3 separate regions of the Homo sapiens genome follow, and all the other regions are linked to region 1. Evidence: promoter capture Hi-C in 16 types of primary human blood cells and fetal thymus (Javierre and others, 2016). All regions are on one chromosome and are shown on one strand. The core of a region is centred on a gene start or on the middle of the fragment in contact, and the rest is flanking DNA. Distances in the headings are between cores, read along the strand shown. Region 1 holds the start of ARHGEF38 (Rho guanine nucleotide exchange factor 38). Region 2 overlaps CXXC4-AS1 (CXXC4 antisense RNA 1). Region 3 overlaps CXXC4-AS1 (CXXC4 antisense RNA 1).

The links. The method cuts DNA at HindIII sites, captures the fragments that hold promoters and counts their contacts. A CHiCAGO score of 5 or more calls a contact.
Region 2: a fragment that was not itself captured here is called in contact with the fragment with the promoter of ARHGEF38 in region 1 in 1 of 17 cell types (neutrophils); the score reaches 5.5 in neutrophils.
Region 3: a contact is called between a fragment that was not itself captured here and the fragment with the promoter of ARHGEF38 in region 1, in 1 of 17 cell types (neutrophils). The highest score is 5.0, in neutrophils.

The regions. Positions count from the first base shown.
Region 1 is chr4:105,550,298-105,554,615 of GRCh38, reverse strand. ARHGEF38 (Rho guanine nucleotide exchange factor 38) reads right to left here and starts at 1,996. Exons shown (of 14, transcript NM_001242729.2): 1 at 1,655-1,996. The coding sequence starts at 1,850. LOC105377352 (a long non-coding RNA gene) reads left to right here and starts at 2,332. Exons shown (of 5, transcript NR_188418.1): 1 at 2,332-2,423. The HindIII fragment of the contact is 3,088 bases long and covers 1,869-4,318 here.
Region 2 is chr4:104,613,538-104,617,855 of GRCh38, reverse strand. All of the region lies in intron 1 of CXXC4-AS1 (CXXC4 antisense RNA 1), which reads right to left. The region is part of intron 1 of LOC124900745 (a long non-coding RNA gene); the gene reads left to right. Among named protein-coding and RNA genes, the nearest start is that of CXXC4, 120 kb to the right of the region's middle. The HindIII fragment of the contact is 3,477 bases long and covers 815-4,291 here.
Region 3 is chr4:104,631,499-104,635,816 of GRCh38, reverse strand. The region is part of intron 1 of CXXC4-AS1 (CXXC4 antisense RNA 1); the gene reads right to left. All of the region lies in intron 1 of LOC124900745 (a long non-coding RNA gene), which reads left to right. Among named protein-coding and RNA genes, the nearest start is that of CXXC4, 140 kb to the right of the region's middle. The HindIII fragment of the contact is 1,915 bases long and covers 1,543-3,457 here.

The sequences.
Region 1 (4,318 bases), core at 747-3,246:
TAGAAACTAAATGTGTATGATTTTAAATTCTCATGGTACATATTCATCATGGAATACTACACAGCCAGAAGAAAGAACAAAATCATGTCCTTTACAGCAACATGGATACAACCGGAGGCCATTATCCTAAGCAAATTAATGCTGGAACAGCAAACCAAATACTGCATGTTCTCACTTATGAGTGAGAGCTAAACATTAGACATACATGGACATAAAGGTGGCAACAATAGATACTGGAGACTACTGGAGTGGCGAGAAACGGACAGAGGCAAGGGCTGAAAAACCACCTACTGGGTACTATGCTCAGTACCCAGGTGATGAGATCATTTGTACCCCAAATCGCAGCATCACACAAAATACGCAAGTAACAAACACACATATATACCCCCTGAATCTAAAATAAAAGTTGAAATTTTAAGACATCCATTCTTTCCAATGTATCTATTGCTTGGAGAAAAATTAATTTCAAAGATTAAACAATGCTCTCCCTCATTTTAAAAAAAAAGTATTTGAGGATAAGATTGATGCTGTGCTTTAGTGCTGAACTACTGGTAATTTTTTTTTTATTTTTACACATTAACTTATAGTAATAATTTTTAGATTTAATTTAAATGCATTTAATTTAACTTATTTAACTTAATTAATTTGCATAACTAAATCTAAGCTCATATTTGTGGAAAGAGATTTGTTAAATATAAGCATGTCCTATCGGTCTTTCTGACCTCATCACAGTTTTTAAATCCAAAACGACAGCTCACAGTGGGATGATGAGAGTTCAGACACACCTTGTGCTAAAAGCAGGAGAGGCAAGTTCTGGAGGACCACATAACAAGTACCGAAGAAAAGACTTAAAATGCTGCCCAATATCAACATCAAAATGAAATTTTACTAGAACAAATGACCTTCAGGAAACAGGAGAGAAAGAAAGGATAGATAGGACAGGATATAGATTAAGGCCCTGAAACAAATGATGTGCTATCATAACTGTGCCAAATTATCTTTGTACCATCACAAAATAAACTGAAGTTATTTCCTCAAATGTCATTCAAAATAAGCATGCTAAACATTTCTTACCATATTTGAGTATTATTCAATTTACTCAAAGGAAATAATCACCTAAGTGAATTTCAGCAAATCTTTTTATACCGTCTCTCTGACTATAACATTCCTTCTTTGTCACAGACACGATTATAGTTTCATGCCCCTATTTAAGATAACCACAATCATAGTTCAGTACCATTACCTAGATATATCTCATGGTGTAATATCACATATCTACCCATTGAGATAAACAATCTTTTGTAGGTTTCTAACTCATTTGCTTTCCAGTGTTTCCCACTTCTTAAGTTGGGTAGAGAAGGGAGAAGAAAAGAGGAAGTTAGAAGAAAAATGATTACCCTCACCAGGAAAAAAAAAAGAAAAACACAGCAATATTAAGAGTAATTCGGAATTGACTCTTTAACATTGAATCACGTAATAAATTTTTTTCCCTATAATTTATAGGTCACATTTACTTTCATCTTCTTATTTTGTGGGAAGGAGAGGTGGTATTCAATTTTCCCCTCTGCCTTGTGTGTTTTCTTTGCAATTGGAAACGTAGCAGAAATGGAGCTGGGAGTGCAGTAACTGGGACAATTGATTTCTTTTTGGTTACCTTGTAATTTCTGGTTGTATTCGGTCCTGTCAGATTGGCTCCTCCTCAAGGTGCCAGAGTGGTCCCCAGAAACACTGCTCTCAACCACAGTGTCAGTCTTCCTTCTCTCCAGCATATAGAGTCTAGACCTCAAGAAGGCCAGATTCTTTTTCTTGGTGACCATGTTTTCTTTCCCAGTGGCTTCTTTGGGCTCCATATTAGGCAAAGACAAGCTTTGGAGGCTTGCAGGCAATGGCTGATTGCTAAGGTGCCTCAGGGTGAGGGTTAAAGCTACTAGAGTGACGAGTTTATCTGCTCCCTTCTAACTAAACCGCTTCACTCCAGGGTTACCTGGCTGTGACTGCCACCACCTCTACGAAGTCCCAGAGCTCCACCCACATGAGGTCATTCTTTTTTAAACCTAGAATCCAACAGGGGAAGCTGCCACCTGTTACCTGAGAGACTTGCAGCACAGAGCTAGGCAAAGCAGGGACTGTGCTGTCACATGCTACTGAAGCAAACAAAAATCCTATTGTATGGGGTGAGGGGTGGGGAAAAAGGAAAATGAACAAGGTGAGGCAGTGAGGAAGGAAGTACACGTTAGCATAACCCGCCGTTTATGGGTTTAATGTGTGCCCATGGGTGTGTGCAGGTGCACTCAGGGCACTGTGTTGTGGTCTGCTGCCTGGAGGCAGACCAGGGCTTGTGCGTGGCTTTTGGCTAGAGTTACTCACAGGTGACCCACGGAGTCAGTGCAGGGGCTATGAGAATTTGCATTTGCATCAAAACGGTGAGTACAGAATCATTTTCAGTGATTACTGTGCACACTCAAAGTTATGCTTCTGCCTTTAAGCGTTGAACATTCAGCAATTATTTACTGAAAACATACTTGCCAAACCCTGATCCGCATTCCTGAGGAAATAAGGATTCACATGTGAGAGTCATCTGGCAGCAGGCAGAAGAAGTGGAGGGGAATGCCCATAGAAGCCTAGAGCCTTTTCAGATTTCTCACTCTCCACAGGCTGCCCTTGCCTGAAATTAATCCTTCCATGGTCCCACCCTGTCCTTTTATGTTTTGGTCCTTAGGAAAATAAGCCCCGTGTCAGGGTTCAGTTTCTATAAGATCTTTTCCCTGTCCCTTTCATAGACGGAGTGCCAGAAAAGGGCATCCCACCTTGGGAATTTAAGGAGAGGAAAAATGTTTGAAACTGAAGGGGCACTACACTTCTAGAAAGTAGAAAGGATAGGGCAGGGATTAAAAGAGAGAAAGGCAGACAGTGATAGGCCTTTCATTAATTTTTTTGAAGTTGTTTTTCCTCATATTTCCTGAGATCTCTCAAGGGAAAAATTCTAAGAAGCTCTGGGAATGTGCTGAGTGCTCTGTATGCCTTCGTTAAAGAAAAGAAAGACCCTAAGGAGGAAAATGGATTCTCTCCTATTGTAAAGGGACCACCAAAATCCAGCTCTGTGCTGACCAGTCTGAATCTTGCATAACTTCTGTTGGAAAAGATTTATAAATGAGGAGAAAGATGTAAAAGTCATTTCCCAGCTCAGGATGTGTGTGCTCAATATAGTTTGCATAATTATCTTAAAAGATAAATGACACATCTTCACCCACTATGGAGACATCTATATATAGCTTGGCGTATTGAATGGCTTTTATTTAATATAATTGATAGTCTTTTTTGAATAAATCCTCCCAAGTACATTTAATAAATACTTTTAAAGGCTTATTTACCTCTAAAATATAAAAGGAATTTTTTGGATTTATGTCAAAATGCCTCAATTGTGTTCGAATATTATATATGTATGAATGTATGTATGCATATACACACTTATTTATATTCACCTGGTAACCACCAGGGATTTATTTAGATACGGTATCACTGAAAAAAAAAGTTCAATTAAAACTACAGGACTTAATGGGTAACATGAGGTTTAGGACAGAGCACTCAGAAACTTTGTCAATGGACCATAAAAATCAGATCAAGACCTAATAAAAATGGTAGCAAGAATTTACACATGATAAATGCTTAAGAAATGCATAAATACTACAGCAAATATAACCCTTTATCTTGAAAAAGACACGGCATTTGCTTGTGGAAATGGGCCTCAGAAAGGTCACAGCTTAAGGGTTGTGAAATGGCAGAAGAAGCATTATTTGAAATCGGGGGAAATTTATTACACCAGATGTGGATGGGTGTGGCTCATAACTCAGGCAGTGAACTGAGGTCACTGGTAAGGTTTGAGGATTGTACCTGTGTGAGTTTTGTGTATTCTTATGTGGCTCAGGTCATCTGGGTAGTTTTCTGCATTCGACTAGTGTTTCAAGTAGACAAAATCACACACAAACAAATGCGAAATTGTGTTATGTTCAAACAATTCCCTAATATGTCAATCTTGTTGGAACAAATTTGTATTTTCAAAACAAGTGTTATAGCAGAACTTATTGTAATAGCTTCATTATACAACCCTGTATTGTTTAACAACAAGGATACATTCTAAGAAAAGCATCATTAGACAATTTTGTCATTGTGTGAACATTATGGAATATATTTTCTTTAAACGTAGCTTCATTATACCATCCTGTATTGTTTAACAACAAGGATACATTCTGAGGAAAGCATTATTAGGCAATTTTGTCATTGTGTGAACATCATGAAATGCATTTACGCACACCTAAAT
Region 2 (4,318 bases), core at 1,304-3,803, 940 kb after region 1:
TAATCCAGAGCAAGGCCCTAACTCTCTTCAATTCTGTGAAGGCAGAGAGAGGTGAGGAAGCTGAAGAAGAAAAGTTTGAGGCTAAAAAATGTTGGTTCATGAAGGTTAAGGAAAGAAGCCATCCTCATAACGTGAAAGTACAAAGTGGAGCAGCAAGTGCTGACGTAGAAGCTGCAGCAAATTATCCAGAAGATCTAGCTAAGATAATTGATGAAGGTGGATATGCTAAACAATAGATTTTTTTTTTTATGTAGACAAAACAGTGTTTTATTGGAGGAAAAGACCAATCTAGGACGTTCATAGCTAGAGAGGAAAGTCAGTGCCTGGCTTCAGAGCTTTAAGGACAGGCTGACTCTCTAGTTAGGAGTTCATGCAGCTGGTGACTTCAAGTTGAAGCCAGTGTTTGTTTATCATTCTGAAAATTTTAGGGCCCTTAAACATTATGCTAATTCTACTCTTCTTGTGCTCTATAAATAGAACAACAAAGCCTGAATGATGGCACATCTGATTACAGCAGAGTTTGCTAAATATTTAAGCTCACGATTGAGGCCTACTGCTCAGAAAAAAAAAAAAAAAGAAAGATTCACAATATTTACTAGTGATTGACAATATCCATTTTGTAGCCCATGGATCAAGGAATAATTTAGACTTTCATGTTCTGTTATTTAAGAAATACATTTTATAAGGCTATAGTTGCCATAATGATTCTTGTGATGAATGTGGGCAAAGTAAATTGAAAACCTTATGGAAAAGAGTCACCATACTAAATGCCATTTGTGGGAGTGAGACAAAGCAGGATGGCCAAATAGAAGCTTCCACCTATCACCCCCCACACCACCCAGCACAGGAACAACAAATTTAACAACTATCTACACAGGAAAAGCACTTTCATTAGAACCAAAAATCAGGTGAGCACTCACAGTATCTGGCTTTAACTTCATGTTGCTGCACTGAAGATGGTAGAAAAAATAGTCTTAAACATCTAACACCTCCTAACACCCATCCCCTGGCAGCAACTGCATGGCACAGAGAGAGGATCTGTGTGCTTATGGGGAGAGAGAGTGCAGTGATTGTGAGACCTTGCATTCAACTCAGTGCTGCCCTGTCAGAGTAGAAAGCAAAACTGGCCGAACTCAGCCAATCCCTGCCCACAGACGGAGCATTTAAACCAGCCCTCGCCAGAGAGGAATTGCCAATCCTAGCAAATCCTAGCAGTCGGAACCTCAGTTTCAGCAAGCCTCACCACCATGGGCTAACGTGTGCTGGAGTACACACAAACTTGAAATGCAGTGTAGGCCACACGACTACAATTCCTAGGCAAGTCCAAAGGCTGTGCTGGGCTCAGAGCCAATGTACTTGGGGGGAATGTGACAGTGAGACACCAGCCATAGAGATTGAGGGAGTGCTTGCACCACCCCTCCCCCAACCTCAGGCAGCACAGTTCACAGCAACAAAACTGACTTTACTCTGCTTAAGGAGAGAGGAGGGAAAAATAAAGAGAAGTTTGCCACAAGAGTGGCAGTACTCCCTATGGGCCAGTAGTGATGGTAGCCATGGGGAGAAGCTCCTCTGCCTCTGGAAAAGGAAGAGAAGAGTGGCCAGATCTGTGTCATGTGGCTTGAGCACCAGCTCAGCTGCAGTAGAATAGAATATCAGGTAGATTTCTAAGTATTTTGATTCCACTCCATGGCTCCTGGACAGTATCTCTGGACCTGCCCAGGGTCTGGAGGAACTTGCCACCCTGAAGGGCAGGACAAAAACTTGGCTGGCTTTGCCACCTGCTGATTGTGAAGCCCTAGGGCCTTACGTGACCATAAACAATAGCCAGGTAGTGGTTACAGTGGGCTTTTGGTGAGACCCAGTGCTGTGCTGGCTTCAGTTCTGATCCAGCACAGCCCCAGTGGCGGTGGCCACAGGATGCTCATGTCACCCCTCCCCCAGCTCTGCATGGCTCAGCACACAGAGAGAGACTTCATTGGTTTGGGAGAAAAAGTGAGAATGAGTCTCTCTCTCTGGTAATCCACAAGATTCCTCCAGATTTTATCCAAGGCTGCCAATGTAGTACTTCTACAAGTATGCAAGAATCACAGTGTTACTGGGCTTGGGGTGTCCCTAATGCAGAAACAGCTTACATCACAACACCCAAGTCCTTTAAAATACCTGGAAGGCCTTCCCAAGGAGGACAGGTAGAAACATGCCCAGACGGCACAGACTAAAATAAATACCTAACTCTTCAATTCCCAGACATTGATGAACAATCATAAGCATCAACACCATTCAGGAAACTGTCACCTACCAAACAAATTAAATAAGGCACAAGGGACCAATTCTGGAGAAAGAGAAATATGTGATCTTTCAGACAGACAATCCAAAATAGCTGTTTTGAGGAAACTTAAAGAAATTCAACATAATACAGACAAGGAAATCAGAATTCTATCAAAGAAATTTAATAAAGAGATGATTGAAATAATTAAAAAGAATCAAGCAAAAATTCTGGAGCTGAAATATGCAAGTGACATACTAAAGAATGCATTGGAGTCTCTTAGTGGCAGAACTGATCAAGCAGAAGAAAGAATTTCTGAGTTTGAAGACAGGCTATTTGAAAATACACACTCAGAGGAGATAAAATGAAAAATAATAAAAAACAATGAAGCACACTTACAAGATCTGGAATATAGCCTCAAAAGGGCAAATCTAAGAGTTATTGGCCTTAAAGAAGAAAGTAGAGAAATGGATAGGGGTATAAAGTTTATTCGAAAAGATAATATCACGGAACTTCCCAAACCTAGAGAAAATTTCAAAATTCAAATATAAGAATGTTACAGAACACCAAACAGATTTAACATAAAGAAGATCACCACAAGGCATTTAATAATCAAACTCCCAAAGATAAACCATTAAAGGATTATAAAAGCAGCAAGAAAAAAGAAACAAATAACACAATGGAGCTCCAATGTGTCTGGTAGCAGACTATTCAATGGAAACCTTACAGGCCAGGAAAGAGGGGTGTGACATACTTAAAGTGCTGAAAGAAAAAATCTTTTATCCTAGAATAATATATCTGGTGAAAATATCCTTCAAACATTAAGGAGAAATGAAGAATTTCCCAGACAAACAAAAGCTGAGGAATTTCACTCACACTAGATGTGTCCTGCAAGAAATGCTAAAGGGAGTACTTCAATCAGAAAAAAAGAAATCATTTGAAGGTACAAAACTCACTGGTAATAAATAGCAAGTACACAGAAAAACACAGACTATTATAATACTCTGCGGTAGATAAACTACTCATATCTTAAGTAGAAAGACTAAAAGATGAACCACTCAAAAATAAGAACTATGCCAACTTTTCAAGACATAGACAATACGATAAGATAAATACAAACAAAAAGTTAAAAAGTAGGGGGCAAAGTTGAAGTGTAGAATTTTTATTAGTTTTCTTTTTGCTTGTTAGTTTGTTTATGCAAGCAGTTTAAATTTGTTATGAGCTTAAAATAATGAGTTATATTTGCAAGCCTCATTGTAATCTCAAATCAAAAACATACGACCAATAAACAAAAAAGAAAAACCAAGAAATTAAATCATACCACCAGAGAAAATCATCTTCACAAAAAGGACAAAGAGAAGGATGGGAAGAAGGAAGAGAAGGCCACAAAGCCAGAAAACAAATAGCAAAATGGCAGAAGTAAGTTCATATTAATCAATAATAACATTGAATGTAAATGAACTAAAATTCTCAGTAAAAAGACATAGAGCGGCTGATTGAATAAAAAGCAAGACTCAGTGATCTGTTGGCTACAAGATACATGCTTCACCAATGAAGACACACATGGACTTAAAATAAAGGGATGGAAAAGGATATTCCATGCCAATGGAAACCAAAAAAGAAGAGAAAAAATAGATTTCAAGACAAAAACTATAAGAAGAGACAAAAAGGTCATTATATAACGATAAAGGGTGAATTGAGCAAGGAGATGAAACACTTGTAAATATATATGCACCCAACCCTGGAGCACCCAGATACATAAATCAAATATTATTAGTGCCAAAGAGAGAAATAGATAACATTACAATGATAACTGGAGATTTCAACACCCCATTTTCAGCACTGGAGAGGTCTTCTAGACAGAAAATCAATTAAAAAATTGTACTTTATCTGCACTGTAGATAGACCTAATTGACCTAATAGATATTTACCAAAGATTTCATCTAACAGCTGCAGAATACAAATTCTTTTTCTCAGCACATGTATTATTCTCAAGGACAGACCATATTTTAGGTCACAAAACAAGCTTAAAACATTTTTTTAAAAACCCTGAAA
Region 3 (4,318 bases), core at 1,251-3,750, 920 kb after region 1:
GTGATGCACAGTATCAGAATGAGGTTGGCACTGTAGAGGTAAACATGTGGGTCTTGTTACCAGAAGGATCAGATAAAGCTGGAGGAAACAGGGAGTTGAGGAGAGTTAAACTAATTAGAGCAGAACACTGAGGCCTGAACTTAAGGACAAAAGGAAGAATATCTTCCTTTTGTACTTCCAAAAGGAAGTACATCTATTCTGTGGTTGTTTCAGGGATAAATAGGTTTATCCAGTAGCTTGGATATAGTGAAGTAGTCGTACTTAGCAGACAATTTGAAATATGGGCAAAAAACTGTCTATTGAGGTTCACTAGTTTTGTTTTGTTTTTGAGACAAGGACCTGGTCTGTATAACCCAGGCTGGAGTGCAGTGGTGCAATCAAAGCTCATTGTAACCTCGAACTCTTGGGCTCAATCATCCTGCCTCAGTTACCAAGTAGCTGTACCAAGTACAGGCAGGCACCATTATGTCCACCTAATTTTAACGTTTTCTGTTAAGACTAGGTCTCACTATGTTGCCCAGGCTGTTCTCAAACTCCTGGGCTCAAGTGCTCCTGCTGCCTCAGCCTCCCAAAGTGCTAGGATTATAGGTGCGAGCCACTGTGCCAGCTACAGTTCACCAGTCTCACTCATGGCAGGTATTTAGTCTCAGAGATATCTCTGGATCTTTGGAACAAAATATGTTATTTAAATGCTCCTGCTCTTCTCCACTTTATTTTTACACCAATAAATGCTTTCACCTTTATCTTCTCTTAAGAGGCCACTTTTTATGTCAATATTCTAAATAACAGTTCTTCATAATTTTACGTTTTCATTAAATTCACTCAAAGCTCAGGTCCTTTCCCTTAGACTGAACTACTGAACTAGCCCTGTTTTTGTTGTTGTTGTTGTTGTTTTGTCAAGCCTGCACATACTGATGGTTCAATTTTCATTTAGAGATGAGAGCTCAGAATCTGCACCAGTCCTACTGAACACGTGTGAGAAAGACATGACATCTGCCTCAGGAGAATGTGAAGTGAACAACACATGCTCCGTCTTGGGCACACTTGTGCTCAGTTAATGCTAATTGGTTGCTCATTCAGTGTCCCTTGCTATAATATGTACTACTGGGAATTCTATGGCTTAGGAATAACCTATTCTGTCCTTCCAAGGGATATTTGAAGGGATCTGAAATCATCTGTAAGAATAGATACAATTCTATCAAGCTGTAAAAGAGGATTCTGGTTTTTTCGCCAAAATATTTAATCTTATAGAAGATATTAGATGTTATTAAGAGAAGAAAAGCACAGAGTAGTGCCTTTACATCTTCCAGATTTTCCCAGAAGATAATATTGCTGAATTGTGTCAGTTTATTTTGTTCAGTTTTCTTCATTGTGTGCTTGGCTTTAGAAGGTATTTTACTCCCAACAGCTCTGTTGGTAATAAGCAAGATGTTAGGCCAGTTGTAGCTTCTTCTAGATGTGTTTCTGAGGAGCTGCTCTTATTAATTTCTACCCCATCTGTTTAGTCAATTTACCATAAGTGACTTTTCCAAAACTAAAGCTTACCTTGTATGGTGGCATTCTGTAAAACCCTAAACATTCACATTCTTGTCGAAAACGACATGGTATCATGGATGTTTCTATGCATGTGGAACTTCTCTGTTCTCCTAACTCTTAATTCTTTATTATTATAGTGATATATATTCTTAAACCTCAATTCTGACTCTTCTACCTGTGCAGATCTCCCCATTCTCCGTAGGCTTTGGTAAATTTAAGGCAGGAAAAAGTATAGTAGAAAGAAGTCAGGAGTGATAAATCAGACCTGGTTTCTGGTTTTAGGTTTTTGAATTTGAGTACATTTTGGTCTTCTGAATCTTAGTTTTCTCATCCACAAGATGAAAATGTTGTGGATCAAGACTTGGAGTTCCTAGTTGTCAAATGATTTGGCAGTCCTTCAAACTGATAATCCTCAAACAGTTGTTCACCATGTATTTAATACAGCCAAGGTCAATAAGGTCAATGCTTCAAGGATTTTTCCCCCAACTTGAGATTCCTGACCACATTGGCAGCAATAAGATCAATTTATATTTTGGCAGCTATACAAGGACTCTCTTCTTTGTGTTAACTGGCTCTCTATTTCTTCTAAACTCCTGTGCTGTTTCAGCACCCTTTACAGGTAAGTGCTCAAGATTTCTTCTTACTCTATATGTGATATGGCCCCTTTGATTGTCCATCATTTTCATGATATAATGTTAATGTCTGATTTAACATTATATGGTATTAACATGGTTAATGTCTGATTTAACCAGCTGTGCTGTTTCCTGTTTGTACTCTCCCGCCTGAAATGTTCTCACTGTCCCTCTCCCCCAGATCCAAATGTTTCAACCTTGTTTCTTCCATGGACAACTTTCTCTTGACCTCTCAAGACAGAATGAGGTATTTTCAACTATATACTCCCATATGCTTCTTCATACTTCTTTGCAAACTTTATTTTATTGCAATAATGTATTTGTTTATACATATATTTTTATTAATAAACTGTGAGTCTAAATAGTAAGTCTATTTTAAAAGTTAAAAACTCTGTATTTGGTTTTAGGTCTCATATCCTTATCTAAATGCCTATATTACTCAGCTTTGTGAAAATGATGTCTACAGTGCATAATAAACAAGCCCAAACTCAATGGTTTTAATAATAAGTATTTATTTTTCATTCACACATCTGTGGATCAGCTGGGAGGGTACTGCTTCAGTCTGCAAATGTGTGAGTTGGCTGGGGCATCTCTGTACCATGTATCATATACTGAGGCCCATTGGATAAGGGGATAGCAGCTATTCTTGTCATGGCAATGAGAAAAGAACAAGGACAATTCAAGGCCTTACTTAAAGCATGTATGCTATATCCCATCATTAAAAAAAGACCCATGGACAAGTCTAAAGACAAGGGGCATAAAAGTACACTCCTCTGACCATGAAGCCATGAAAAGAATGAGAATGTACATTATACTACAGGGGAGTGAAGAATTAAGACCACTAATTCACGAACTCAGTCACCATAGTACTCAACAATGTGTTTGCTGTTGAATGTTGTTGAATGAATACATATACATGAGTAAATTCTGAAATTACAGGTGGCTCAACAAGGATATTGTTTAATAAGGGGGAAAAATGAAGACAAAGTGCCAATCTGAGCTGCAAGTTGTGCTACTTTCTTAAGCTGTTCATTGATTAATAAAATAGAAGCCAAATGGTATGACCTGGCCTTTCCCAGTGACAAGAGGCTCTAGAAAATAGCAGTTGTGATTCATTCCTTAATCCAGACTTAAGCTCATGCATAAAAGCAGCCTTTTTCTTATCCTCACAGCAATTGTCTATAAGGGAGAAAAGGAAAGAAGAGATAATTCCTGTTAAATCCCTGACACTAAGGGTAGGAAGTGATTCCTTTCTAATTTCACCAGGCTCTTTAGTTTCCTGAGAAGCTTTCCTTCCCCGTCCCCCCAAATTCTCACTGGGATTAGTTAGCAACAAATGATTCCTTCTCTTTATTACAGAAAAACCTGATACCTATCTCAAACCTATAATTATTTTTGTTCTAAAATGGGAGGAAAGACATTGGGTCAGTAAGTAAACCATGAGTTGAGATGGAGGGATAACCTCAGATAAAGAAGAGCAAGTTAAACAGGAAAAGAAATCACCATATAGGGTTTTCATATTTTACATGTTTGTAAAAGACCACAGGAACCTCCCACACAAAAATTTGTTTCATGGATATGTGAGGCCTGGAGTGAAGTCCTATGTGAGCTTTTCAGAAAGCCAGTGTTCCATGAGAACAAGAGCAGAGGAGCAAATAGATGTGAGAATCCTGGAAGATTTAATCAGGAGAGAGCAGGCTAGGAAATCAGCTACCAGAGGAATCTAAATAGAAGGCAGAAGAGTGAAGCTAGGGGAGAATACAAACCTGCAGAAACTGCACCCACCATTCTGCCAAGTTAGTGTGGGGGAGCAGGTGACAGCACCCACAGCTTCAGCCAGAAGCCAAAGGAGGTTCACCTAGGAAAGAACACTGCTATGAACTGAATGTGTCCCCCAAAATTCATATGTTGAAACAATTGCCAATGTGGTAGTATTAAGAGATGGGGCCTTTAGAAAGTGATTAATTCCTGAGGGCAAAGCCCTCATGGATGGGATGAAGGCCTTTATAAATGAGCTTGAGGGCGTGGGTTCACTCTCTTCTGCCTTCCACCATGAGAGGAGTAAGCAGGAAGGCCCCCATCAGATACCAACTGCCAACTCCTTGGTCTTGAACTAAGCCTCTAGAATGGTAAGAAATAAATTTTTGCTC